Linked DNA regions of Homo sapiens: region 2 is linked to region 1. The links are contacts of gene promoters, found by promoter capture Hi-C in blood cells and fetal thymus (Javierre and others, 2016). All regions are on one chromosome and are shown on one strand. The core of a region is centred on a gene start or on the middle of the fragment in contact, and the rest is flanking DNA. Distances in the headings are between cores, read along the strand shown. Region 1 holds the start of MROH9 (maestro heat like repeat family member 9). Region 2 has its middle 95 kb from the start of GORAB.

Evidence for each region. Contacts are between HindIII fragments. The CHiCAGO score rates a contact against its expected background, and 5 or more counts as called.
Region 2: a contact is called between a fragment that was not itself captured here and the fragment with the promoter of MROH9 in region 1, in 3 of 17 cell types (megakaryocytes, M0 macrophages and M2 macrophages). The highest score is 8.8, in megakaryocytes.

What each region holds. Positions count from the first base shown.
Region 1 is chr1:170,932,399-170,938,391 of GRCh38, reverse strand. MROH9 (maestro heat like repeat family member 9) reads right to left here and starts at 2,858. Exons shown (of 22, transcript NM_001163629.2): 1 at 2,805-2,858. RefSeq lists an enhancer at 5,921-5,993. The HindIII fragment of the contact is 7,245 bases long and covers 2,769-5,993 here.
Region 2 is chr1:170,434,431-170,440,423 of GRCh38, reverse strand. No RefSeq gene overlaps it. Among named protein-coding and RNA genes, the nearest start is that of GORAB, 95 kb to the left of the region's middle. The HindIII fragment of the contact is 2,152 bases long and covers 2,306-4,457 here.

The DNA of each region.
Region 1 (5,993 bases), core at 1,609-4,108:
TATTTCTCCTATAACCAGGATTCCTGGGTCTAGGGATCAAGGGGTGAAAATAGAGTTGCACCACTCACTATTATCCTTAGTGTCCCACTAGCTTCCTGTTCTTGTGGCATTATGCTCTGCTGGCTTAGAGATCTCAGTTCTGGAGGGAAGAATTCTTCCATCAGGGGACACGACAATAATTCCACTGAACTGGAAGTTAAGACTGCCACCTGGCCACCTTGGTCTCCTTGTGCTTCTGAGTCAACAGGCTAAGAAGGGAGTTATGGTGCTGGTTGGACTGACTGATCCACACTACCAAAGAGAACTTGGGCTACTATTCCATAATGGAGGCAAGGAAGAGTATGTCTGCAATACAAAAGATCCCTTAGTGTGTCTCTTAGTATTACTGTGTCCTGTGATTAAGATCAATGGAAAACTACAACCACCCAGTGCAGGTAGGACTACTAGTGACCCAGACCTTTATGGATCACTTTAGCAGGTAAAGAACCACAAGCAGCTGAGGTGCTTACTGAAGGCAAAGAAACTACAGAATGTGTAGTAGAAAAAGGGAGTTAAAAATACTGATTATGGGCCGGGCGCGGTGGCTCACGCCTGTAATCCCAGCACTTTGGGAGGCCGAGGCGGGCGGATCACGAGGTCAGGAGATCGAGACCATCCCGGCTAAAACGGTGAAACCCCGTCTCTACTAAAAATACAAAAAAAATTAGCCGGGCGTAGTGGCGGGCGCCTGTAGTCCCAGCTACTTGGGAGGCTGAGGCAGGAGAATGGCGTGAACCCGGGAGGCGGAGCTTGCAGTGAGCCGAGATCCCGCCACTGCACTCCAGCCTGGGCGACAGAGCGAGACTCCGTCTCAAAAAAAAAAAAAAAAAAAAAAAATACTGATTATGATGCTGTGATCAGTGCAGAAATGAAGACTGTAATAATTATGAGTATTTCCTTTTAATTTTGTTCTGAATACATTTCTTTGTGTATATATTAGATACCAAATATTTTTTCTTTTCTTATTCTCTTATCACATAATACAAAATGCAATGACTTCATATTCTAGTATTTAAGTATTGTTAATGTTACATCATAGTGTTTAAGTTACAGGACATCAAGGAAGAGAGTAAACATCACTGAAGGACTTTATCTCCTCCTCTGAGAAGGGTTTAGTGCATTTTCAGTTGTATGCAGGACATATGTTGGAACAGGAATTAAAAGAAATTAAAGAATGTGTAAGCAGAAACTCAGTTGTATGTAAGAAAACCCAATTCCCCAGAGAAAGAGAAAGAGCTGGAGTCCTTTAAAATTAACTGCCTGTTTTTCTGTGGCTAGTGAGCCTTATCTCTCCTCCTTTCCCAGGCATTGTGAAGACCCTGTTTCTCTAGCTGTGCAGCTGCAAGGTCACTAGACAGATAAACTCAAGTCATAAAACATGTTTTTCCTTGAAAAGTAAGAAATGATGTAATGCATGTTTCAATTAATTGAATAACTGTCTTTGTTTCTCACTTCTGTAATATGCTTCCCCCTACACAGATCTCCCCCACCCCACGAAATGATTAAAAGATAACTCTTTGTTCAGGGCTCAGTCCTTTGGAGGTTAATCCAACTGGGCCGGTGCACCTAAATAATAAATATCCTTCTCAACCCCATCGGTCTCTCTGATTCCTTATCAATCCCACTACATTTCAACATGTTAAATGGAATTATGAGCTTCTTATTGACTTTATTTGGAGATTAACTATGGCTTAAGGATATGTATATGGGTGCCAAATTTTCAACGTGGGAACTCATTATGGTTAGTTAATATTACGTGTCAAACTGAGTGAGCCATAGGATGCCCAGATATCTGGTAAACATTATTTTGGGGTATGTCTGTGAGGGTATTTCCAGAAGAGATTAGCATTTAAATTGGTGTTCTGATGATAGGAGATGACACTCCCTAATGTGGGTCAACATCTTCCAATCCATTGAGGGCCTGAATAAAACAAGAAGGCAGAAGAATGCTTAGTTTTCTCTTTGCCTGACTACTTGACTTGGGACACAAATCTGCTGCCCTCGGTGCTCTGGTTCTCAGATCCTCAGAACCAGGCTGGAATTTTTATCATCAACTCTCTTGCTCTCAGGCCTTCAAACTGCACCATTGGATCTCCTGGGTCTCTGTCTTGCAGAAAGCAGAATCCAGGACTTCCTAGCTTCTATTATTGTGTAAACCAATACCTTATAATAAATATATTTATCTATATAGTTGTGGTTTCTCTCATCCTTACTAATAAGATAATCCTTACTAGTAAGGCATGAAGTTAGGAGATTAATGAATAAAGACAAATTCTTCCAATTGCCAACTTTGGCAAGATTTCTGGATGAGGGCCCATAGTAATGTAATTTTCTTTTTCTTTTCTTTTTTTTTTTTTTTTTTTTTTTTTTGTCTCACTCTGTTGCCAGGCTGGAGTGCAGTAGCATGATCTCGGCTCACTGCAACCTCCACCTCCCGAGTTCAAGTGATTCTCCTGCCTCAGCCTCCTGAGTAGCTGGGATTACAGGCACCCGCCACCACACCCAGCTAATTTTTGTATTTTTAGTAGAGATGGGGTTTCACCAAGTTGCCTAGGGTGGTCTCGACCTCCTGACCTCATGATCCGCCCACAGCCTCCCAAAGTGCTGGGATTACAGGTGTGAGCCACCATACCTGGGCCATAACGTAATTTTCTAATGTATTCATGGTTCTTTTTCTTAACAGAACAAAAATTAAGAAAAGTAGTCAGGATTAGAAAAAAAGACAAGCTTTTGAATGACAGAAATATTAATAGGAATTCACTTACATATTTGTAACTTCTCTGTAATCACGGTGAGACAAAGTAGTGAAGAGAAACTCTAGTATATTACCTCTTAGCCAAAGGTAAAATACTCTAGGTAGTTATCAACCAAGCAAATTCTTTGAAATGTTGACACTCGTCATGGCAACCATATGTTTCAAAGATTCCATTCTGGAATGAATGTGGTAGAATGTCCTGGCATGCCCAAGTGGCTACTAATGCTCACCTGTCATTATTGAGGGGTGGGTAAGTTTCTGGTTTCTATGTTACAAGCACTGAAAGATAGTTCTTCAGACCAACAGTCCAGTAGAAGCTGGGCAAAGGATAAGAATAGAAAATTCACAGAAAAGGAAAACTGAATGGCCAATAAATATTTTAAAAGATTTTTAATCTCACTTGAAGTTATGAAAATACAAACCATTAAAATATTATTTCCCAGCTAATAAGTTAAAAAGTACTAAAATACAAGTAAAAATTAAAAAAAGATAATTTCAAATATTGGCAAAGATAAAAGAAAGTTGAACTTTCTCACACGACTGGTGGGATTATAAATGGATATAACTAGTTTGTAGAGAAACTTGTCAAGTTCTAGCAAAACTGAAAATCTACAACCCAGAATTTCCAGTTCTAGGTCCATAGAGTGTATAAACATGTATACAACTGATGCACTGAGAGACATGAAGGATGTTTATTGTAGCACTTTTTATAATAGAGTTATTAAAATATAATTCACATACCATAAAATTTATCTTAAAGTATATAATTCAATCATTTTAAATATATTTACAGAGGTATACAACCATCATTACTATCTAATTTTAGAACATTTTCATTTAGAACAAGCTCCAAAGAAACCCTGTACCTGTTAGCAGACATTCACCCTCCCTCTCCCCCAAGTACCTGGCAACCACTAATCTTCTGTCTGCCTTCTGGACATTTTATGTAAATAGATTTATACAATATGTGACTTTTTATGATTAGACTGTTTGGATTTTTATTACTGAGTTGTGATTTTTTAATATGTTCTAGATGCTAGTCTCTTATCAGATACATAATTTGCAAATATTCCTCCTTTTCTATGGGCTGCCTTTACATTTTCTTGACAGTGTCTCTTGAAGCACAAAAGTTTTAAATTTAAGTGAAATTTAAATTTGCCATTCTTTTTCTTTTATTGCTTGTGTTTTTGGTATCATAACTAAAAAAAAAGAAAAAGACATTGCCTGCATTCCCTGGCCCAACTTCACAGAGATTAGATTTAGAACTTTTCTAAGAGTTTTGTAGTTTTTGCCTTACATTTAGGTCTTTGGTTCATTCTGAATTAGTTTTAGTATATAGTGTGAGGTAGAGGTCTAATTTTATCTTATTTTTTGCATCTGGATATTCACTTGTCTCAGTACAATTTGTTAAAAAGATGATTCTTTTCCTGATTGTCTCCACATCTTTGTAAAAAATGAATTGACTAAAATGGTTTATTTCTGAACTCAATTTTATCCCATTAATCTATATGTTTTTCCTATACTGGTAGCACACTGTGGTGATTTCTGTGTCTTTGTAGTAAGTTTTGAAATCAAGAAGTGTGAATTTTCAAACTTTGTTTGTTCTAGGGTCACAATTATAACATTAGCCTAAAACAATGTAGTTTGAATTAATATCAATTTAGTTTCAATAACATACAAAGGTTTTGCTCCAGTATACCTGGTTTCCTCCTTCATTTTTTCTGCTATTATTGCCATGCACATTATATATATTCATGTTATACATACATATATTTAAACATTATAATCCCACCAACCCAGTTTTATAATTATTGCTTTAAGCTGTTTTCTTTTAAACATAATAGGAGAACAAAACCAAATAATTTTATTCTACCTCTGTAGTTTATGAGTGTGCTCTCTGTGTAGACTTGAGTGACTAGCTAGTATTCTTTTATTTCAGCGTGAGACAATATCTTCAGTATTTCTGGTAGGGCAGATCTGCTAGAAAAACAATCTTACTTTATTTGTGAATACTTAATTTTTCCTTTCTTTCTTTCCCTTCCTTCCTTTCTTTCTCTTTTCTTTCTTTCTTTCTTTCTTTCTTTCTTTCTTTCTTTTTTTTTGAAGGATAGTTTGGTCAAATATAGAATTCTCAGTTGGTAATTTTCTTTTTCTTTTTTGAGACGGAGTCTTGCTCTGTCATCCAGGCTGGAGTGCAGTGGCGCAATCTCGGCTCATTGCAAGCTCCACCTCCCAGGTTCACACAATTCTCCTGCCTCAGCCTCCTGAGTAGCTGGGACTACAGGTGCGTGCCACCACAGTGGCTAATTTTTTTGTATTTTCAGTAGAGACGGGGTTTCACCGTGTTAGCCAGGATGGTCTCGATCTCCTGACCTCGTAATCCACCCGCCTTGGCCTCCCAAATTGCTGGGATTACAGGTGTGAGCCACTGCACCTGGCCCAGTAATTTTTTTTATGGTTCTTTGTTGTCATCTGACTTCCTTCTAGCCCCCTTCTTCTCTGTCTTCCTCCTGCTTTGGCCATGTAAGATGAACCTGCTTCCCCTTCAGCCATGATTGAAAGTTTCCTGAGGCCTCCCCAGCCATGCTTTCTGTACAACATGTGGAACAGTGAGCCAGTTAAACCTTGTTTCTTTATAAATTACCCAGTCTCAGATATTTATTTAAAGCAGTGTGAGAACAGACTACTACAGAAAATTAGTACCTAGGAGTGGTGCATTGCTATAAAGATACCTGAAAATGTGGAAGCAGCTTTGGAACAGGGTAATGGGCAGAGATTGGAACAGTTTGGTTGGCTCAGAAGAAAACAGAAAGATGAGAGAAAGTTTGGAACATCCTAGAGACTTGAATGGTTTTGACCAAATTGCTGACAGTGGGGCAGAGATGGCCAGGCTGATGAGGTCTCAGATGGACATGAGGAACTTATTGGGAAGTTTGAACTTGAGAGTGATGATTTAGGGAATTTGGTGCAAGAAATTTCTAAGCAGCAAAACATTTAAGATGTGACCTGGCTGCTTCTAACAATATATGCCCACATGCCTAAGCAAAGAGATGGTCCGAAACTGGAACTTAAAAAGGGAAGCGGAGCATAAAAATTTGCAGCCTGACCATGTGGTGCAAAAGAAAAACCAATTTTCTGGGGAGGAGTTCAAGCCAGCTGCAGAAATTTGCATAAGTAAAGAGAAACCAAATGTTAATAG
Region 2 (5,993 bases), core at 2,132-4,631, 500 kb after region 1:
TTTCATGTTTGGTAGAATTCAACAGATCAACAACTTAAATAAAATGGACCAATTTTTTGATAGACACAAATTACTAAAACTCCCTCCAGAAGAAACAAACAATTTAGATAGTTCTAGTCTTTATATCTATATGATCTTATATCATATTATGATATAAGATCACTAAATTAGTAGTTAAAAATCTTCACAAAGATTATGATTTGCCTTTGTAGGTACAGTTTTTTTCCTCTTATTTGTTGTACTTGGAATTAATTGAGCTTCTTGGATATTTGGGTTTACATTTTTCATCAGTTTTTTAAATGACCATTATTTCTTCAAGTATCTCTTTTGCATTTCCTTTTCTCTCTTTCAGATACATCTACATTAGGCTGATTGAAGTTGCTCCATAGCTCACTGATGTGTATTCAAATTCACTTGTATTTCTTTCTGTAAGGTCCTATCTGCTGCTAATTTCATCCAGTGTATTTATTATCAGACATTTTTGTTTTCACCACTAGAAGTTTGATTAGGTTTTTAGAAATTTCTTTTATGTTTTTACATAATTCTCTGAACATATGGAATGCAGTTACAGTAAATGTTTTCATATCCTTGTCTGCTAATTCAAACATGTGTGTCAGTTCTGTGTCAATTTCAATATACTGCTTTTTCTCCTTACCATGGATTGAATTTTCCTGCTTCTTTGCATTCCTGATAATTTTTGATTGGGTGCCAGACATTGTGAATTTTACTTTTCTGGGTACTGGATATTTTTTGAATTCTTCTAAGTAGATTTGAGCTTTCTTTTGGCATGCAGTTATGTTACTTAGAAACAGTTTATCTTCTTGCATACGACTTTTAAGATTTGTTACATGGGACCAGAGTATTATTTGATCTATTACTAATTATTCCACAGAGGTAAGACTATCCTGTGTACTCTTCTTAATTCATTGTGAATTTTCACATTTTCCTATGGTGATAAGGGCAGATACTCTTCCAGGTCCTGTGTAATTGCCACGTACTATTATCATTAAACTTTTCCAGTAGTTGTTTCCCTAGCTTGGTTGGTTTCTTTACATGCATGCACTGATCAGTACTCTAATGAATACTCAAGGGGGACACTTTGCTAGTCCTTGGACTTCTTCCTTTGTGCAGCTATGTACTTCCTGGTTCTCTGTCTTGTGAACTGTAGCTACGTTGGTCTCCCTGGACTCTTAGCTTTGTCTCTTCAACTCAGGGAGTCCCCTCAACTCTACCTGGATTTTCTCTTCATGTGCTATGGACTGGCAATCATCACAAGGCAGAAATCTGAGGTAATTGTAGGGCTCACCTTACTCATTTTCTGTATCTGTGGGACCCTTTTTCTCTGTTCCTTAATATCCAGTATCTTAAAAAATATTGTTTCATATATTTTGACTGGTTATATTGGTTTTTCCATAGAAAATGGTAAATATTGTCCTTATTATTCTGCCTAGGTAGGAAGTGCAAGTGTTGTTACACATTATATTTAAAAGCAATATAGCAGATGCTGAGAGGGTTTGAACAACTTATAATGACTCCAAATATTTGTACTACTCTAGCGTATACACCAGATTAGACATCATCCCTTAAACACAGGCTTACTAGAGCAATGAAGCAAATGATTCTTATTCACCAGCCTCACCCATGAAACAGATTGAATAGAGAAGGAAAATTTCTTAAAGAGGTGCTAAGAAGAATTAAAGAAACACCGCTCCCCACCAAAAAAGTTCAGGTCAATATTCCTTCATTTTTTGTAGTTTCTACAGAATTACAGAATGTTCATGACTTGATACCATGGAGTTGACCTGCATCTAAATTATTATAAAAGGAGTAACTTTCACTTTATCATTTCAAGGAACAGATAGCAAAAATTCTGCATGTTGTCTTTTTTACTTTCTATTGAGGCTTGTGGGTCCTTAATGTATTTGAAAGAGCTTATTTAAACCTCTCTGGTTGTCTCCTTGTGAGGGGTAAGTAGTCCTGACTGTATCCTAACCAGCTTAAGTGTTTACCACAGTAAGCAGGGGTTTTCAAAGCTACTTCACCATCCCAATCCATTTCCCAGTATAAGTGAGTTCTAGAGGGAAGCTCATACACTAGATGATGTCCTTGCTCTGGGATCCGTAGAGTGATTTGCGGTTCCTTACAGGAGAAGTTTCAGTGAAGAGTTCTGTCGCCCTTAGGCATACATTTTAGGGGTTGGACTTCCTATTTAAGGGCAATTAAATAAGGGGCCTTACTGTTTTAATTGGATTTTAGGTAAGCTATTCCTGTGGACAGTTTGTCAGTGTTTGCTATGGCCAAAGCTTTTCATTTACATTTGATATTCTTGTAATCTTGTGCTAGTCCCTCACCCCTAAAATAATTATCTTTTAAGTTCTCTGCCTTCCCAGATGGCAAAGTCATTAGCAAAGCTCTTGAGACTAGCTCGGTCATTTTGAGCAACAACAATTTTGAATCACGTACTTTAAATTGGGTCTATAGAGAGGACCTTGATTTTTTAGGCCTGGGGTGCTCTTTGATCACTTTTTCTGCTTCGGTTGGTTCATCATGTTTTCTTTCATTCATCTTCCACCAACTCAAGGATTTGTCTAGTGTTCAGTACAGAGGGGTAGGATTAAAAATGGCATAGTCCAGCAGAGTGGAACTGAATTAGAGGGGGCTGGGAGAACCTGATTAGTATGCTAAGTTGTGAAATGCTGTCTACTTACAAAGGTATAATTTGTATAACAAAATGGTCATTAATGTCCTTGCCACCTAAACAGTTTTGAGATGGCCTGTTAGAGAATAAGAGAATGTGTGAAGGATAAAGGAAAAGGGTTGTTGTCCCAAAGTGCACTGTAGGAGAGAATCACCTGATCCCATGAGGAGGTAGTGAAAAAAGGCAAGAAACTTTCTATTTGAGTGTGCCCTGGCGAGTTTTATCCATTACCTAATTATGTTTCCTCTACCCTAAAATATGAAGAATAATTTTTATTCCACTTCCAAAGTGTCTTCTCTCTCAAAATTATCCTCAGTCAAATAACTGCATTTGCTAAAACCAACTGGCATTTGTAGTACGCTGGCAAGAGAGTCACATATATTTATCTTTATTTTTAATGAAATTTTCATGATTTCTCTTTTAAATTCTATGTGAAAACATGCACGTTAGTTTCCTATTGCCATTGTAACAAATTACCACAAACACAATGAAGATTTATGATCGTTCTGGAAGCCAGAAGTTTGAAATAAATTTTAATTGGGTTAAAGTCAAGGTGCCAGCAGGATTGGTTCTTTCTGGAGACTCTAGGGGAGAATTCATTTCTTGGTCTCTTCCACCTTCTAGAGGCCATTTACATCCTTGGGTTCATGGCCATGTTCCTGTGTCTTCAAAGCCAGCTGCATAGTATCTTCAAATCCCTTTCTCCCTATCTTTCTTCATCTGTTATCATATCACCTTCGGTCTCCCTCATCTCCTGCCTCCCTCTTAAAAGAATCCCTATGATTACACTGGGCCCACTTGGATAATCCAGCATAACATCTTTATCTCAAGATATTTAATTTAATCACACCTGCAAAGTCTCTTTTGCCATATAAGATAATATTCACAGGCACCAGAGATTAGGATGAAGGCATCTTGGGGGGCCATGGTTCAGCTTACCACACACGGTATTTGGAGAAATGGGAAATATACTCAGGAGTGTGCTGGCTCAATATGTACCTTCAGGTAGCACTCTAGCCTTTTCCCACATGACCTCATTCTTTTACCTTATAGCAAATGCCTCACAGAATCAATTGTATTCCCTCTCTAAAAATAGAGCTCGGAGTACCATTTGTTGCTTGACATTGTTTACTGTTTACTTCATTTGCATGTAGTTTTGCTACTTATTAAAATGCTTACATTTTTTCTGAGATTCTCATTCATTTACTGACTTTTTTACAGTATTGAACATCTTTTATAATCCAAATACTACATTAGGCAATAGATATGCAAAAATATATAAAACATGGCCCTAACCTTTAGTAGGCTTATGGTCTAGAGGAAGAAGTAGTTTTAGGAAACTTCATTTTGCAAATGAGAAAACTGAGGCTCAGAGGGTAGTTAGGTGGCTTACCCAAGGTTTTTCATTCAGCAAATAGAAAACCTGGATCCAACTACAGATTTGATTTCAGAGAAATGACTCATTTAGTAAAGTAACTATTCGGAATATTGCTGCATAAAAGATAGGAAGCATCTCAGCTCCGAGTGACTTCTGATGAGAAATTTGAATGTTTGTCAAACACTTTGTGAATCTGATTCCGACTTCTCAGAATCCTATTTACTCTTACACACAATTCTAATAATTCATTTTCTCATTCAATGGCCCACTGGAAGCAGAAAGTAAGACTAGGTATGTGTTGAGGGTTGGGGAAGGAGGTAGGTGGAGAGAAGAGGGGCAGACAAAGGGAGAGCAGTGGCAGAATAGAGAAACCTGAAAGCTTAACAGTGAGTGAGAAAAAATGCTGCTGAAAACCAATAGAAGCAAGGATAGCATTTTCAGAGTTTTTATAGGTAATACCTCACCTACTGCCAAAAAATTAGAAACAACTCTATTAACTCGGTATTCTCCAGTGACATTTCTGGCTTAAAACATAGTAATCTGATACTCATTGATTCTACCGCTTTTTCATTCCCCCTAACCTTTTCTGTCTTTACTTCCCTCTTAAACCAGCTTTAGTTACATCATTAAATTTTAATAATTCCCTGGCAAACATCCTCAATACCCTTGTCTATCAACTACTTTCCTATATTTTCCCAGATTTAACTTAGAAAGTTGAACATAACTGTCTCGTCCCTGCCTGCCCCCCATACAACTGAATATGGCTGGAGAAAAACACATAGCCATATTGACTGGTCTCATTTCATATTTATATTCTTGTTCATTGACTTGTTTCCTATTTCACTGAGAAAACAGATGTAATCTGAATTGAAGCCCCAAAGTCTGGCAATTATATATTTATACACTATCTGCCACTGTACTATAAATCCAACCTGCTCTCATATTGGTTTGGTTATATTGGTTTCTCTGGCTTTACCTTCTTGGTCTTTGTGGATTTTTCCTCATTTTTCCAATCTTTAAATATTGGAGTGCCCTAAGGGCTTGGTCCTTGTATTTCTTCTCCTCTCTACCTCTTCTCAGACTTTAGATAATGTAGTACAACAAAGGTCTTTAAATTATATTTACATCCTAATGACTTATAAATTAATATCTCTAGTCTAGACTTTTCCCCTGAGCTCCAGATCAATATTCTCTAGCCCCTGCTTGTATTTTAACTTGGACACCTAATATACATCTCAAACTTAATATGTCTAGAATGAACTCTTGGTATCTGCCCTTTCCCTACCAAACCTACTCTTCCCACCATAGAAGTGAGCACTCATTGAAAAAAATTGGGTTCAAGTATGTCCTACATACTCTATGTGAGGTCCAGAAGAATATAATACATTTTAGAAAGATTTTTATGCAGAATGGTTAAAATCATTTTTTGAGAAGTTAAAGACCTATCTTTAACTTTTGGAAACATTCATAGACCTCAAACGTTGTTGGGACCATGGGAGTCATGAGCACAGAGACTGGCTGAACAGAGTAATGTAGAATCAGCAAGCTCTGAGATGGGAGCAGAGAGCTTTTAGTTCTGCTTCATGGCCTCAAGCAATGTCACTTGGCTTCCTTAAACCATAGTGTCCAAATCTGCAAAATTACACTTGACTTCTGAGATCCATTCTGTGTCCAGAGAAACCAATGTGTCTATGATGTACAAGATCTCCCTAGTCCAGTGGTTCTCACGTGTGGTCTCTGGACCACCAGCAGCAGCAGAATCACCTCGAAACAGATTAGAAATATAAATGTCTAGGCTCCAGCCAGGTATGCTGAATTAGGAACTCTGAAGGTTGGTCAGTCCCAGCAATCCATATATAATAAGTCCTCCCAGGCAATTCTGATGCATGCTAAAGTTTGAGAACTACTGCTGTGTTC